Linked DNA regions of Homo sapiens: region 2 is linked to region 1. The links are contacts of gene promoters, found by promoter capture Hi-C in human tissues and cell types (Jung and others, 2019). All regions are on one chromosome and are shown on one strand. The core of a region is centred on a gene start or on the middle of the fragment in contact, and the rest is flanking DNA. Distances in the headings are between cores, read along the strand shown. Region 1 holds the start of GLOD5 (glyoxalase domain containing 5). Region 2 holds the start of HDAC6 (histone deacetylase 6).

Region 1 (2,700 bases), core at 38-2,537:
TGATAGTCTGTTAGAAATAAACTCCACCTATTCCTCCCATTATTCTATTCTTCCCTGCCAGCTTAGATTCACTCCCCAGATCCTGCTTTGCAGACTCGGAGCTCCATCCTTGCAAATTCAAGGACGAGCAGGGATGGCTGTCTTCAATAACAGGAAGGCCAGCGTAGCTCAGAACCCAAGAGTGAGTGAGAGATAAGTGGGAGGGCAAGGCAGGGTCTGGATCCTGCAGACTCTTGGAGGTGAAGTTACAAAGCCTGCTTTATAAAATGATGATCAAGACATAGTCATCACACAAAGGACTGGGTGCAGTGGCTCACGTCTGTAATCCTAGCACTTTGGGAGGCCAAGGTGGGTGGATTACATGAGGTCAGGAGTTTGAGACCAGCCTGGCCTACATGGTGAAATCCTGTCTCTATTAAAAATACAAAAATTAGCTGGGCATGGTGACGTGCACCTGTAATCCCCTACTCGGGAGGCTGAGGCAGGAGAATCGCTTGAACCTGGGAGGCAGAGGTTGCAGTGACCTGAGATTGCACCACTGCACTCCACCCTGGGCGACAAGAGCAAACCTCGGTCTCAAAAAAAAAAAAAAAAAAAGACATAGTAATCACACAAGGCTTACTGTGTGCCAAGCCCCGTTTTACACACTCTACAAAAATATAATCCATTTTATTTCTCACCACAGCATATAAAATCCCTATAGTCAGAGTGCCCGGAACACCATGTCCTTCCTCCTTTGGCCTCCTCTACAGGGAAGTGTTCTGTCTTCCTACAGGGTCCTCTTCAAGGTCCCCTTCAGGTTGCCAGGGGCCTCTGAATTCCTCTCCTAAAGCTCAAGGTCAGCGCTGTGTTTCCTAGCCTCTCTCCACATGGCCTTAATCATGACAGCTTTGGGGGCACCCTGCGTGAGCCACCTTTGTATCTCTCCACCTGTCCCTGGCTAAACTGGGGGAGGAGCCAGCCCTCAGCCCCGGCCCAGCCCTGCACACCTGAGCACAGGGCCCTCCATGGCTTAGAGCCGGGCCTTTCCATGGGCCTCTGCTGCCCTCTGCTTGTCTCTGAAAGAGAAAGGGAGAGAGGAGGACAGGAAATGGGAGCCCGCAGAGAAGGGAAACAGGTTACTAGACCAGTTTCAGTGCCAACACCCTTGCCCCAGATCCCCAGGGGCCATCTTGTTCACCTGTTTCTCCAAAGTCCTGCCCCACATCTTGACTGGCAGCCTGGAGGGCAGATGGCGCAGCATGGCAGGGTAGGCGTCTTTGCCCAGGGTCCTCCCGACAATCCTCTGGCTCAGCGCCTGGAGATCAAGGGGCAGGAATGGGAGGGCACAGGCTGAGGACTGTGGGAGGTGACACAGGTAGGTAGTGCAAATGGAAGGACTTTAACATTAAATTCAGGGCCTCAAAATTGAAAGCTTAAAGTGGATGTGTGTAAGGGATTACTTCTTGTTAACACTGAAGGCTGGGTGCGGTGGTTCATGCCTGTAATCCCAGCACTTTGGGAGGACAAGGCACGTGGATCACCTGAGATCAGGATTTCGAGACCAGCCTGGACAACATGGCAAAACCCTATCTTTACTAAAAATACAAAACATTAGCCAGGCATGGTGGCGGGCGCCTGTAATCCCAGCTACTTGGGAGGCTGAGGCAGGAGAATCGCGTGAATCCGGGAGGCGGAGGTTGCAGTGAGCCGAGATGGCGCCATTGCATTTCAGCCTGGGTGACAGAGCAAGACTCCATCTCAATAATAATAATACTGAAAAACCACCAAGTATTAAGGGGATCTTTATTCTAGCGTGTGATGCCTCTGGTCTACTTAGGGGTATGTCTCCAAAGTGTGAGATCTGTGAGCTGTTTGAGAGTGTGTGTCAGGGGTATGAAGTTGTGAGCTATCTGAGTTAGAGTATGACTGCTCTGACCCATTAGGTGTCTGTTTCCAAGCCAAGATCCCTGAACTCTTAAGAGTTCTGAGCCCCTTGGTCAAGCACGGTGGCTCACGCCTGTAATCCCAGCACTTTGGGAGGCCAAGGTGGACGGATTACTTGAGGCTGGGAGTTCGAGACCAGCCTGGCCAACATGGTAAAGCTCCATCTCTACTAAAAATACAAAAATTACCCAGGCATGGTGGTGTGCACCTGTAGTCCCAGCTATTCAGGAGCCTGAGGCAGGAGAATAGTTTGAACCCGGGAGGCGGAGGTTGCAGTGAGCCGAGATCGCGCCATTGCACTCCAGCCTGGGTGACAGAGTGAGACTCTGTTTAAAAAAAAAAAAGTTCTGAGCCCCAGGGTGTGATGTTCCTGAATTATTTTGGGGGATGAGTTTTGGGGGATGAGATTTGCAGTCTTCCTCCTCCTCCCCACTCACCCTTCACTCACCCTCACCTTCCGCTGCTGAGAGTCAGAGAACATTCATCAGCCCAGTTGCTGTTCACTTTACCCTGAGCAGAACTCCCCCATCTCCCTTACAGGTTACTTGTCTGGCCCCTGGAGCATGTGAGTTTGAGATTTTTGTTTCTAGTTACCCCCAACACAAACACTTTGTGTTGTGGATATTGTTTTGTTTTTGTTTTTTTTTGAGACAGTGTCTCACTTTGTCACCCATGCTGGAGCCCACTGGCGCCATGATGGCTCAGTGCAGCCTCAAACTCCTGGGCTCAAGGGATCCTCCTGCCTCAGCCTCCTGGGTAGCTGGGACTACAGGT
Region 2 (2,725 bases), core at 88-2,587, 40 kb before region 1:
CACACAATAGGCACTCAATAAATGTTTGTTAGCTACATAAAAGAACCCTTTCAAGTGTGAGCCCTACCTCCCCAAATCATCTGCTTCCAGTATCCAGGCTGGGGTAAGAAAAGATTTATTCTTGCTAATGGGCTCTAAGTGTGTGTATTTTTGTGGTTTGGAGACAGCCTGGAGGACCCAGCCTCACCTGTCATCCCAGAGGCAATGGAATTCATTTAACTGCTCATCCAACACCAAGCCAGTGCCAGCCAGTGCTTCAGCCTCAAGGTTCAGATCCTGCAGAGGAAAAAAAAAAGGAGACACAGATCCATTTTAGGCCCTGAGTCAGAGGGAACTGTCCAGGGTGGGGAACCTTTGGGTTTTGATTGTCATACGAGGCTAAACTGCAGCCAGGCCCTGCTCACCATCCCTTGCAGTCCCACGATTAGGTCTTCTTCCATTGCTTGGCCGAGCTTCTTCATTTTGCCTTTCTTCTTTACCTCCGCTAGATTGGGGATAGAGCGGGGAACGGCTCCCTTTTTAATATTTCGCTTCTGTGAATCAGAGAGAAGGGTCAGAGTCCAGGGCATGACCAACTTGCTCCCTCTCCCCCTCATCAGGGCGGGTCTAGGGCCTCACCGAAGTGACACTGGAGTCCTGAGGGGGCGACTGGGGGTTCTGCCTACTTCTTCGCTGCCTGGTTGTGGTGGAATCCTGGCCGGTTGAGGTCATAGTTGAGGAGGCTTGGCCCCTGCCGCGGTTCTGGGGGTGGGGGGAGGAGCGTGGGTATGTGAGGGGGCTAGTGTGCCCTGAGGACCCCACCTCTCTGCCCTTTTCCAGGCTCCGCCCCCTCTATTAGATTCCATTCCTTACGCGATCTGATTCTCCACAGCCTTCCAAACTCCGCCTCTCTCAGGCCTTCTCCCTCCACTCAGGTGGCCATTCTACCCGGCCCCGCCCGGCCCGCTAGACTCCACCCCTTTTACACGATTCTCTTTCCCTGGTCTTGCCCTTTCACGGAGCAATGAGCCCCCGGGCTCACACAGTCCGTCTTAGGGCCTGCCCTTTCCAACCAATCACCGCCCCTTCTACTCTCCTAAGCCCCATTCCCAGACCCTCTAAGCCCAGCCCAGACCCCATTCCTTCACGAACCTGCCCTTTCGGCCTATCTCCCGGGATAATCACCCACCCTTTCACTCAGCCGGCCCCGGCCCCGACCCCGGTTTCGACTCCACCCTTAACGATTCACTTAACTCCACCCCTTATCGGGCCGGACCGGTACCTTCCACTCCGCCAGATCCCGCCCCTAGCGTTTCAACCAGCCCCGCTCCTCAGGGGACTGCCCCGTTCCTTCAACCAGCTCCACCCCCTGCCCAGACCCGACCGCTAACGTTTCGCTAACCCTCTTCAGCCAGTCCCTAGCCGCCTTCGGTCGGCCTCCGCCCCCTTCCCGCCTCCGCCGTCGACGCGCTGTACTCACCGCTCCACTCATTGGACGCAGCCCCTTTCTCAAACTCCGCCCTTGGCTCGCTCCACCAAGTTTCTGGCGACCTGTGGGGACGCGAGCGCTCAGGCTTTTCTTTTCCATTGGGCCTCGTCTCTCGACTGCCCGCCCAGATCCCGCCTCCAGAGGGGACCGTGCCTCAAGGCCGCGCCCCTCGCGCGAGCCACACCTCTCGCGAGCTCACAAGCGGCGGGGCGGTGCGTCGGCGTGCTACGCCAGCTGGGCTGAGCCACACCGCGAGCTCACAGGCGACGGGGCGGTGCGTCGGCGTGCTACGCCAGCTGTGCTGCGCCTACGTAAAAGGCAGGCGCCGGCGGTTCCCGACAGGGCTGCGGTGCAAGCTTTTTCTTGCCTCGGCTATCGTCGCTGTCGTCCCGGATGCCATAGCCGCCGCCCCTCCGTCCCTGTCCAGTCACTTAGGAGCCCTTCGGGTCGGCGGTGTCTGGAGAGCAAGCAAGGAAGCGAGGGAATTAGGAAGGGGCATCTTACCTTTTCCCCGCGACTTCCCGCGCGACGCGCCGTGATGACGTAGCGCGGGCGGGCTGGTTGTGGCTGGGCCGAGAGCGAGGTTGCCACTGGACGTTGGTGGTGGCGGCCAAAATAGGCGTGGTGACGATGCTAAATGTGAGGATTTTCCGAGTTAATATTCACTATGGTGGTACACAGGAAACACTGGCCGAATATTAGCTATTAATATTCTGCCGCAATATTCTGAGTGGAAGGAGTCTTAGTGGGGGCAGGGAATGGTAATGATAGCAAGTATTATGTGACAGGCATCGTTGTAAACCACAATTCTATGAGGTAGTTCCCATTATTAAGGCTGCTTTGCAGATAAGGAAACTGAGGTTACGGGACTTAACCATGTGACTTTGGGCAAGTTGCTGAACAGTTCTGTGCTCCGTTTCCTCATCTGGAAAGTTGTGATAATAATAGTGCCCAGGGCCAGAATGGCCTTGAGGATGGGAGTTCTCATGGGCAGCAGCTCTCCCTATCTGCCCCCTCCAACGGGTAACCACTGCTCCCAAGCAGTAATAGAAAGTGTGTGTGCGTCTGGGGAGCTGTCCCTAGGCACCCCCTCTCCCCCGCAACTCCCACTCCATGTCTAAATGTCAGCTCTGCAGGAGGCCGGTTTGTCCTCCTAATCTCCCTGTCTCATTCTCCACCATTTCCTACCGGGCTATAAGCTGGGACCGGAGAGATAAGCAGTCCGGGGGTTCTGCATCAGACTGACAGATTGACGGT

The links. The method cuts DNA at HindIII sites, captures the fragments that hold promoters and counts their contacts. A contact is called where the count stands out against the background at its distance.
Region 2: a contact is called between the fragment with the promoter of HDAC6 here and the fragment with the promoter of GLOD5 in region 1, in 1 of the 25 tissues and cell types used here (adrenal gland).

The regions. Positions count from the first base shown.
Region 1 is chrX:48,760,334-48,763,033 of GRCh38, reverse strand. It overlaps GLOD5 (glyoxalase domain containing 5), which reads right to left and starts at 1,287. Exons shown (of 4, transcript NM_001080489.3): 1 at 1,181-1,287. The coding sequence starts at 1,243. RefSeq lists a cis regulatory region at 793-1,535. The HindIII fragment of the contact is 11,202 bases long and covers 1-2,700 here.
Region 2 is chrX:48,800,679-48,803,403 of GRCh38, reverse strand. It overlaps HDAC6 (histone deacetylase 6), which reads right to left and starts at 1,337. Exons shown (of 29, transcript NM_006044.4): 1 at 1,262-1,337; 2 at 619-741; 3 at 405-533; 4 at 188-276. The coding sequence starts at 711. RefSeq lists enhancers at 686-765, 1,396-1,909, 1,756-2,025, 2,147-2,725 and a cis regulatory region at 2,486-2,725. The HindIII fragment of the contact is 8,538 bases long and covers 1-2,725 here.